2 separate regions of the Homo sapiens genome follow, and region 2 is linked to region 1. The links are contacts of gene promoters, found by promoter capture Hi-C in blood cells and fetal thymus (Javierre and others, 2016). All regions are on one chromosome and are shown on one strand. Each heading gives the region's core, a stretch centred on a gene start or on the middle of the fragment in contact. The rest is flanking DNA. Distances are from core to core; before and after follow the strand shown. Region 1 holds the start of CNBP (CCHC-type zinc finger nucleic acid binding protein). Region 2 holds the start of EFCC1 (EF-hand and coiled-coil domain containing 1).

Region 1 (4,986 bases), core at 1,769-4,268:
TATAGGTCCCCGCCACCACGACCAGCTAATTTTTTGTATTTTTAGTAGACAGGATTTCACCGTGTTAGCCAGGATGGTCTTGATCAGCTGACCTCGTGATCCGCCCGCCTCGGCCTCCCAAAGTGCTGGATTACAGGCGTGAGCCACCGAACCCAGCCGACACTTAATACTTTCTTATGGCCCTTGTTATCCTGCAAGTTCTTCAAGGGCAAACTCTGTGTCTTAAGTAGTCACCTTTGTAACCCTTGCAATGCTGAGCATGAGACTGAACACTGGAGGAGAGGAGGGGAATAAAACATCTCCAGGGAAGAGGAATGTAATGGGAGCCTCTTCAAGTCCCACTGGCAGCTTATCTTTTGAGTGAGCTTTTTCCTATTTTCAAACATTTCTAGTAAAATAGGCATACCAAAGGGTATATCCAGGCAATACAAGCCATTGTAGTTAAATTCCACCATACACCTTTTCTGGCGCCTCACGATCAGCCTGGCTCTATTAATAATAGTCGTTACAGGAAGCTGCATGCCAGGTAGAAAGAGCCATTAGCTGTTACCACTCCACTGCCAAGAAGTAAAGACATTGTTTCCATTTCTTCTACTTAAGTCTTTTAAAACCTATAGAACATTATGTCCAGTATCTCTATCTCACACTCACTTTCATTTTCTATAGCTGTTGAAATTTTTGTTTTAATATTAGGAATATTCCATTCCTGGGTCTATAATGAATAGCAAACATTTTATACAGTACTATGGTTGGAATGGTAAACAAAAATAAGTCAGAAAATATTAATTTTTGGCCATATGGTAATTTTAACTTGTCCTCTTGGTGTGGTGTGGACGCACCCAGGTTGGACTTCATACATAGCCTCTTGCATTATATTGACTCATTGTCAGAGCTCACGAAGTCACTACCTAAGTGTCTGATTGCTACACTATACATTACTTCAAGATACTATGAAGGTTAATCAGATTACAAAGGGGAAATCATAAAGCTGAGTAAGCTTCTTGGTAATAAAACTATATAAATACAAAATACTGTTTTTTATTGGCAGATAATATATCGTGTTTTAGCACAACACATAAGCTGCTAGGCATTTATTCAATCTGATTGGGAATGGGTTAAATTTGGTTAAAAAATTTTACCTTAGGTTGCTTTAATTAAAAAAATGTTTAAGGCTGAGTGCAGTGGCTCACACCTGTAATCCTAGCACTTTGGGGGCACTGGGTGCAGTGGCTCACACCTGTAATCCTAGCACTTTGGCCTAGCACCGCTTGAGGCCAGGAGTTCAAGACCAGCCTGGCCAACATGATGAAACCCCATCTCTACTAAAAATACAAAAATTAGCCAGGCGTGGTGGTGGGCGCCTGCAGTCCCAGCTACTCAGGAGGCTGAGGCAGAATTGGTCAAACATGGGAAGCGGAGGTTGCAGTGAGCTGAGACAGCACTCCAGCCTGGGCAACAGAGGGAGACCCTGTCTCAAAAAATAGTAATAAATAAATTTAAAAAGTTCGGCCAGGCGCGGTGGCTCATGCCTGTAATCCCAGTGCTTTGGGAGGACGATCACCACTTTGGGTGGGCGGATCACCTGAGGTCGGGAGTTTGAGACCAGCCTGACCAACATGGAGAAACCCCGCCTATACTAAAAATACAAAATTAGCCGGGCGTGGTGGCGCATGCCTATAATCCCAGCTACTGGGGAGGCTGAGGCAGGAGAATCACTTGAATCCAGGAGGCGGAGGTTGCAGTGAGCTGAGATCGTGCCATTGCACTCCAGCCTGGGCAACGGAGTGAGACTCCGTTCTCAAAAAAAAAAAAAAGTTTAAAATATCATTGGTCTTTAAAGTTATACATTCATTCTTTGATAATTGCTATGTTGAACGCAACCTCCTAACTGCTTTACAATGATTAAGCACTAATGATTTGAACCCAGGTTTAAAGTCTGACTCTCAACACATGTGCTCTGCCTTCTCACGAACATGATTTCAAAAATCATAGCCCCGGGATTTGGGATTGGTGGCTTATGCCTGTAAACCCAGCGACAGAGCAAGACCCTACTCTTAAAAAAAAAAAAAATTAAAGAAAAAAAGAAAAATAAATCATAGTGTTGAACTGGCAGGTTTCACTGAGACGAAACTTGGGACTCTTCCTTTTTTTTTGTTTCGAATAAAGCCATTCTAGAATGAGACAAAATTCTAAAATATTTTATAGTTAACAGTTTAAATTGGGTTTAATCTTGACAAGACTATCTAGGGCTATATACACAAATCTCTTTTGGAGAAAATACCACAACTAAACTGAAGTCTATTCCTGAATATGACAGACCAGGTCAAATGGTTATCCTTGCCCTCCCGGGGGATGTCACTCATAAACGTGCCAAAAGTCACAGTCTAGGCCCCATTACCTTACATGCTCATGACCTTCCCAGGGAGGCCCCTCGCCCTTACCAGGCACTTTCATCTTGGGAAGACACATCAGTCCTGGCGGAGAAAGCAGCAAGGCCTTTCCCCGGCTCACAAAAATTAATACAAATCTCAGAGGCTGCATCCCACAGCCGTGACCACCGTGACTTGGCATCCCCTTTTCTGCAAACTTAAATGTTATCTAGAAATCGGGCCTGGCTCTGAAAGCCAAGGGCCTGGCAGGAGCCCGAGAAAGGGGAGAAACTTTCTGCGGCCCCAAGCTAATGGCAGTCACTGCACCGAGACCCGTCCCCTGGCATCCCTTTGCTCCAGCTGGCCAAGACAGACCACCAAGGTCAGCCAGATTTCCACCCAGTCTGGCCGGGCCCGGACCCAGCTGGGAATGAACCGAGAAGCACCGGGACCCGGATCCCGGCGTGAAAGGCCGCGCGCGGGGCACGGCGGGAAAAGACGCTGCGCGCAGAAACACCCGCCCCGCGCCGCGCTCTAGTGGGCGGCCCTGCCGCGGGCGGCTCTGATTGGACTGCCGAACCCCGCGCGCTGATTGGCCGCGTGGGCGAGGCGGAGGAGAGCCGTGCGCAGCGGCGTATGTGGGGCCGTGTGCAGACCCGCGTGTGGCGCAGGCAAGGACCCTCAAAATAAACAGCCTCTACCTTGCGAGCCGTCTTCCCCAGGCCTGCGTCCGAGTCTCCGCCGCTGCGGGCCCGCTCCGACGCGGAAGGTGAGGGCTGGGGGAGGGGCCCGGCGCTGACGGAGCCGCAGTGCGGGTCGGGTCTGTGGCGGACAGAGAGGGTAGGGAGCGGCGAGGTGGCGATGGCGGCCGCACTTTGGCCTGCGCCTCTGCTGCGTCAGGCGGGAAGCTCGGCTGCTGCCGCCGCCTCGGACCCGGGTTTCTGGCGCACCGCTGTCGGACGACACTTCTGTCCTTTCTTCGTCCTGGAAAGCTGGGTCGCCGAGCATGCGGGTCTTTCGGCGCCACGGCCGCACCCCAGGCCGCAGGCTTAGGGCAGAGGAGGCCCGCCCGTGCGCCCTTGGGGCCGAGGCCCTGACGCTTCGAGGGTCGCGGAATGAGGGACCGAGGGTGGATTTGGCGGGAACTCACTGGAAGGAGTCCGTGTGGTGGGGAAAGGCTCCCGGCTGCGGATGAAGGGGGGATGGGGTGGGTATAGTCGTGCAGGCCATGTGCTGGGGTCGTGCGCCTGGCGGGCCATGTGCCAAGGGTTTTGGGGGCCTTAGAAAAGGGTTCTTAGGCCGGGCGCGGTGGCTCACGCCTGTAATCCCAGCACTTTGAGAGTCCCAGGCGGGCGGATCACGAGGTCAGGAGTTCGAGACCAGCCTGACCAATATGGTGAAAGTTGGTCTGTACTAAAAATAAAAAATTAGCCGGGCATGGTGGCGGGCGCATGTAGTCCCAGCAGCTCGGGAGGCTGGACAGGAGAATCGCGTGAACCCCGGAGGCCGAGGTTGTGGTGAGCCGAGATCGCGCCACTACACTCCAGCATGGGCAACAGAGAGAGACTCCGTCTTAAAAAAACAAACAAACAAACAAACAAACAACAACAAAGGGTTCCTGAAGAAGCCTTTGTGTTTGGAGTGGCGAGACTGCTGGAAGACTTGGGAGCTTTTAGAGTTTATACTCCCTATCCTTGATAGTTTTCCGATTCTTGAATTTTTATCGTCATTTAAATACTAAGTTGCTTGTGTTACATTACCATTCCAAAAGGGGCTGATGGGGCTCACATTCCAAGAGTTAACACTATTTAAGTTGCTGGGATCCTTTAAAAGCGCCATTACCAGAAAAAACACGAATTTGTCAAACCTCCAAAACCACAGCAGCGGGCGGTAGTCTGCATCATTTCTTGGATTAATGAAACAGATGTAATTACAAACGAGACACGAAATTCAACTAGCTCCCCTCCATCTAGATTTTTCCATATCGTGAGAACCTGTTTTAGAATGGCATAATGGTCCACATTTGGGTTTAGGTGTTGATTTTATTATGGGTAAGGCTTGTGCTTGTTCCCACATGTTAACCATATGGCCTCAGCCACAGGGCACTTCCAAAGGAAGTGACTGTTTCTGGTCTTGGGGGTCTTGTAAAAAGAGAACATTGCTCAGTAATCGTCTGTGATTTTAGCTAGTGTGTTTCAGGCATTATTCAGAAGGACTCAGGTGAGATAAGCCAAAACTGAATTTGTTTTTTGTCTTTCTCAAAGTGAAGGAGGTCTAATGAATATCCCCATCTTGCTTTTAAATTACATTTTTAAAAGTAGATTTTTCCCCCTTTCCTATTGTTTGACCCAATTTTGGAGTGAAACGTAACCAGTTACTATTTCCATTCGAATTTAAATTAGCAATTTTATGTTATTTGTTTGTTCAAGCAGTATAACTGGAGTGTAGAGCTTTGAGGGTTTCAAAAAGATAAGAGATATAGTACTTATCTCCTGGGCTTCCCCCTCCCCCCTCCTAAATAGTTTTAAATGCTTCTAATGAGTTACTCTGGTTAAGGATAATCAAACACCTGTAAACTGCCAGGATCCTAGGTACATGCTGTTTTTAGTTTGTTGAG
Region 2 (5,089 bases), core at 1,033-3,532, 180 kb after region 1:
TGATTCCTCCTCATCCCCCACCCCCCAACGTTTTTTCACTGAAGGAAACTGAGACACGACGCCTGTATTCTGTTCCCTCTATAGTACCAACCTCGCGACTCTTCTCGGCCTACTGTATTGGCGGCGTTCAGCCTGCCGGGTGGCGGTTCCTCATCTCCTAGACTCCCCCCAGTGGCATTTCCAGCCCTCCCCGTGCCTGCTCACTAGAGGCTTTTGAGGGTGGTTTCTATCTGTCTTTACTGGTGTGTTCCCAGAGCCTAAAACAAACCTGGCACATAGTAGGTGCTCAATAAATACCAAGCATGAGAGATGCCGGAAGACCGTTCAGGCGCATCCCATGGCTCCCAGTACGTTACTTGGGATTCCACATCAGAGGAGTAGTTTCCCGCCTCCACCCTGGCTTCCATGCACACTGACACTGAAAACCACACCTTGCCACTTCCCTGCACTCTGCAGTGTCCTGAGCTAAGGCGGGGTCATATAATGTCAGTTTCTTCCTGGCCTGTTGTCGCCTGGGGTAGGGGCTGTTCCTTTCCTCCTCTGACCCCTGCGGCCCAGCACTGCCCTTGGTGCTCGGCTGGCACAGTGCTTAAGTGTTTGTCGACGGCTCCCAGATGCTAAGGCTGGGTCCCTATCTCACCCCATGGTTTCTTCTCAATAGCCCAGAGCGGGTCTGGTTCCCGCAGGCACTTGGTGGCCCGTGAGTGCCTGATCCACAGTGTGAGCCACATTGTCTGTTTCTCACTTGTCTCTGTTTCTCCCACAGGGAGCCCCATAAGTCTTTGCTGATTGACAGAAGGAGCTGTCAGTCTACCCCAGGAGGCAGGGATATCCCTAAAGGTGAGGACAGGGCCTTCTTCACACTTCTGTCTCCTAAACCTCCCAGAAGCCTGGCAGGAAGGAGAGAGAAAGATGCTTGTTGAAAGGGAATATGTGAGACTACCCAGACAGGTGCAATTCCTAGGTTAAAGGGGCAAGACGCGATGATGTGGCGGTGGAGCAGAAAAGTGGGGTATGGTTGTTTGAGTGTGATTGGGGTTTTCAGGAATGGAATAGGTGGTAAGAATAGGGTTGGGGACTGGAGTGGAATGGGGAGGAACAGGGGCAAGATGCAAGTGTGCTGATGCGGAGTGGGATGGTGTGGGGCTGCCCTCTGTCTCCCCTTCCTCTGACTCTGTCCTGTCGGGCTCCGCAGCCAGCCAGCTTTTAGTTCGAGCCCTCTCCCGGGCGTTACCACCCTCCCTTCGTGGCCGGCGCGCACCTGCAGTGCTAGGCAGCGCGCATCACTGCTCTGCAGCGCGGCGCGCAGGTCCTCCACCAACTCGCGCAAGCTGCTATTCTCCTCCTCCAGCCGCGCAACGCGCTCACAGTCAGGACCGCTGTCGGGGCCAGGCGCGCAGGGCGGGCGGCGGCGGCGGCGCGGACGGCGCAGGCGGATCTGCGTCTCGATGTGCTCGCTGAGAGCGCCGCGGGGCAGCCGGGGCCCCGCACGGGTGCCGAAGTAGCCACAGAGGCGCGCGTGGAACTGGCGGAAGGTGAGCTCCGGCGGCTCGGCGCGCAGCGCCAGGCGCGCCTCTTCATCGGTATCTGAGTCCCCGTCCGTGGCCAACTCAGCGGCCGCATCCCCGGGGGTCACATCTCTGGAGTTCCCGTCACCTGCTGCCTGCCCGGCCGTGGTGGCCCCCTCCGCGCGCAGCCCCAGCACAGCGCAGAGCGCTCGGAAGTCGGCGCGGGGCAGACGGCCGGCGCCGCGGCAGTCCAGGTGGTGGAAGACCTCCTGCAGGTACTGGTCCAGGCCGGTGGCCAGCACCACGATCTCGTTCTCCACGCCGCGGTCCAGCCCGTAGTGGTGCGCCAGGGCGCTCAGCAGCCACTGCGTGCGCCGCGCAGGTCGCCGGTACGGGTCACCTCCCGCGCCCTCCATGCCGGCCTCCGCGCCCGTGCTGACCGGCTCCATCGCTGCGCCGCGCGCCTCGCTCCTCCGGTCCCTCCTCCGGTCCCTTCGCCCCGCCACTTCCAGGGGCGGCCCCAGAGTTTCTCGAAAGGAGGGGCTTAGCGGTCGCGGTCTGGTTGGAGCGGCGCCGGGGACCGTGTCCAGCAGCTGCGCTGGCCTCACAGTGCGTCTGGTTTACCCCAGTTGCTTTGGAGGGGCCTGGGGTAGGGGGTCCAGGAACCCCCGGGACCCCGGCAGCGCCACCAGTGCCCGGTCGGCGTCTGGGTCTGGCTTCTCCGCGTGACTCCCACGCTCTCCTCTCCTCACTCACGGGGCGTTCCTGGCGTCTGCGCTTTTCCTCCCACTCCCGGCCGTCCACTCTCAACTCCCTCCTCCCTCCGCCCCGCCCGCCTGGCGCGGAGAGTTCGCTCCGAGACCTGGGCGAGGGGTTGGCGCGGGATCCGAAGCCCAGGAGGGCCTTGGGGGTGGCGGCCTCGTCCGGTTGCTGGGGATGTGCCCCCACACCCAAGCGTCACTCTTCCCCCTCTTCCCGGAAGGCCTTTCGAGGGTTGCCTGGCAAGCCTGCTCTCGCCGCCCTGTAGCCGTAGGTGCGGAAAAGCCTCCCCTCCGCTTCAATTCAGCTACTGGGTTTCCGAACCCACTTCTTGTGCCACCATAGACCGTGCAAAGAGCCCCAAGTAGTAACTGGGAAAGAGAGGGAAACAGGCTTGGAGAGGCAAGGGGTCTAGGTTAGGGGCACCCCGCTGGTGAGAAGCCCATCTGAGACGAGCCCTGTGCTAACTGCTCTCTCCCGATCCCTGTTGGGGGTGGGGATAGGACTCTCGGGAAAGTGGTGTCTCCCGGCCCTGCCACCTTTGTGCCTGCCGGTGCTGACTTGGCAATGGGATCCGAGTTCCATCTCTTGAGCTGGGGTTAGGTTAACAGGTCGATGATTGGCTGATGTTTTTTTCTGGTGTTTTAGAACACATTTCTGGAAGATGAAGAAAAACCTGCTTCTCTGGTGAGTGCTAGACTGTGTTCCCTTTCTTTTTCACGAGAGGGGTGCAGTGATATTGTGATATTGTCCACCTGTTACCTGCACCGGGAACGGTTATCCAGCCACGGTACCCAGCCATGTTGGAGCAAGAGGCAGACTCTTCAGCTGTTCCTAGCTATGACAGAGACAGAATCTTGCCTTGTGGATAACTCTGTGAGTTTAAATGTAAAATCTTGCCGTTTGAAAAGCGATAGCATTCTGTCTCCTCTGCCACAGTATCCCAGAATCAGCACGTTGTCCATTTGGCAAATTCGTACTTGTTCTTGAAGGCTTTGCCCAGAGTACATATCTGCTGGGAAGGAGTTAGAGGCTTCTCCCCAAGCATTTTGGACATATTCTTTTAGGTTTGTTTTTAATTATAAAAGTAATGGCAATTTGACAAAGTTTTTACATCACGTCCACTTCTTGGCTTCTACCTTCGAAAGCCACTGTGCACAGGATGTTCACTGCATCATTGTTTATTACAGTGAGAAACTGGAGACAACCTGGTGTCCATCAAATCAGCTAGGACTCAGCAAACGAGGATGAGCGGACACAGCAAGCCACAAGCTGATTATGCACAACACTGATGCTTACATAACAAGAACAAAAACACACAAAACAATACTAAGTATTTTCTACTAGGACATGTGTATGTGAGTGCACAGAAGAAGATGGAGGGATTCATAAGTGGATTCAGTGGTTCTTTCTGCAGATGGGAGACACTGCAGTATTTCCCTTTTGTTAAGATGTTCTCATGTGTTTCTTTTTCTTGGCCGGTCGCGGTGGCTCACGCCTGTAATCCCACCACTTTGGGAGGCCGAGGCGGGTGGATTGCCTGAGGTCAAGAGTTCGAGAACAGCCTGGACAACATAGTGAACCACCCCCATCTCTACTAAAAATACCAAAAGTTAGCTGGGCGTGGTGGCAGGCGCCTGTAATCCCAGTTACTTGGGAGGCTGAGGCAGATGAATCGCTTGAACCTGGGAGGCGGAGGTTGCAGTAAGCTGAGATCCTGCCATTGCACTCCAGCCTGGGCGACAGAGCGAGACTCCGTCTCAAAAAAAAAAAAAAAAAAAAAAAAAGAACCTGATTTTATTTCATGTCAGCCCTAAGAGCTGGTAGCCCAGGCAAGAGTGCAACACCCTCCCCACCCCCCATCCCTGCAGCTGGTGAAGGAATCCTTTGAACAGTAGCTTTCCTGGGCCAGTCAATATTGAAAAGAAAGCTTTTAAATGTCTTGCTGGGAGCCGTTGCCGGCCTCCACTCCCCTACAGCTCAGGGAAGTAAGGGTTGATAATGGTTTGCTGTCAGGCCTGTCTGTCTGCCCTGCGGTGTTACCAGGCACCTCTGAAATAATTCTGGTTGCATCCACAAGGTTTTTGTTTAAGGTTCAAAGTGAGCAAACTCAGAGGTCTCCTTGCGTTCTTTTGTATGAGCTGGGGGGATGGGCGTGTGTCTGTGTGGGAGAGAGTCAGGGCTGTGGCAAAGAAATGATTTTCTGAAGTCAGTTCAGTATTGTTTGAGCCATTTCAAATAGTATATTGTTTAAAGTGTCTTTTAAAGGTCCGGGAAAATGCTAAAAAGCAAAAATCATCCACCATTCTGCCACCAAGAGAGGATCACTGTGTATTTCTGATGTATTTATTTCCAGACTTTTCTATGTATTTGGGCATGAAAGAACTTTTTGGAGTGATTGAAATACTCTATCTTCATGGTGTAGTGGTTGCATGACTGTGTACATCTGAATTTTACAGTGTGCAAATCGTAGCTCATTCAACTTGACATGAAAAGCACAGTGGAAAGGGCGCCATTGGGATCTTTCTTTGCACAGGAACTGAGCTTTGTAAACAGCTTGGCTGTGGTTTCTTTGCAGACACTGCTCCAGAGGCTGCTCTGTGCTCCCTGGGGATGAACTATAAGGTGCTTTGTCATCCCCCACAGATGCCCACTGAGGTGGTTTTCAGCTTTTCTCCGCAAAAACCATACTGTGAACAGTTTGTGCCATATCTTGAGTGATTTATTACTGGGCCAAGGAGTATACATATTTTATAAGCTTGTGGTATTATCAGCCTGTTTTTTGGAAACTTGTGTTGTTCTATCCAGAGCCCAGAACTGTC

What was found. The method cuts DNA at HindIII sites, captures the fragments that hold promoters and counts their contacts. A CHiCAGO score of 5 or more calls a contact.
Region 2: the fragment with the promoter of EFCC1 here is called in contact with the fragment with the promoter of CNBP in region 1 in 6 of 17 cell types (naive CD4 T cells, non-activated CD4 T cells, naive CD8 T cells and 3 more); the score reaches 7.6 in naive CD4 T cells.

The regions. Positions count from the first base shown.
Region 1 is chr3:129,181,928-129,186,913 of GRCh38, reverse strand. It overlaps CNBP (CCHC-type zinc finger nucleic acid binding protein), which reads left to right and starts at 3,018. Exons shown (of 5, transcript NM_003418.5): 1 at 3,018-3,138. It overlaps LOC105374101 (a long non-coding RNA gene), which reads right to left and starts at 2,840. Exons shown (of 2, transcript XR_924469.3): 1 at 2,442-2,840. RefSeq lists an enhancer at 2,595-2,684. The HindIII fragment of the contact is 13,108 bases long and covers 1,000-4,986 here.
Region 2 is chr3:128,998,497-129,003,585 of GRCh38, reverse strand. EFCC1 (EF-hand and coiled-coil domain containing 1) reads right to left here and starts at 2,282. Exons shown (of 8, transcript NM_001377500.1): 1 at 1,262-2,282. The coding sequence starts at 1,957. It also overlaps a transcript of CFAP92 not described here. The HindIII fragment of the contact is 12,645 bases long and covers 1-4,199 here.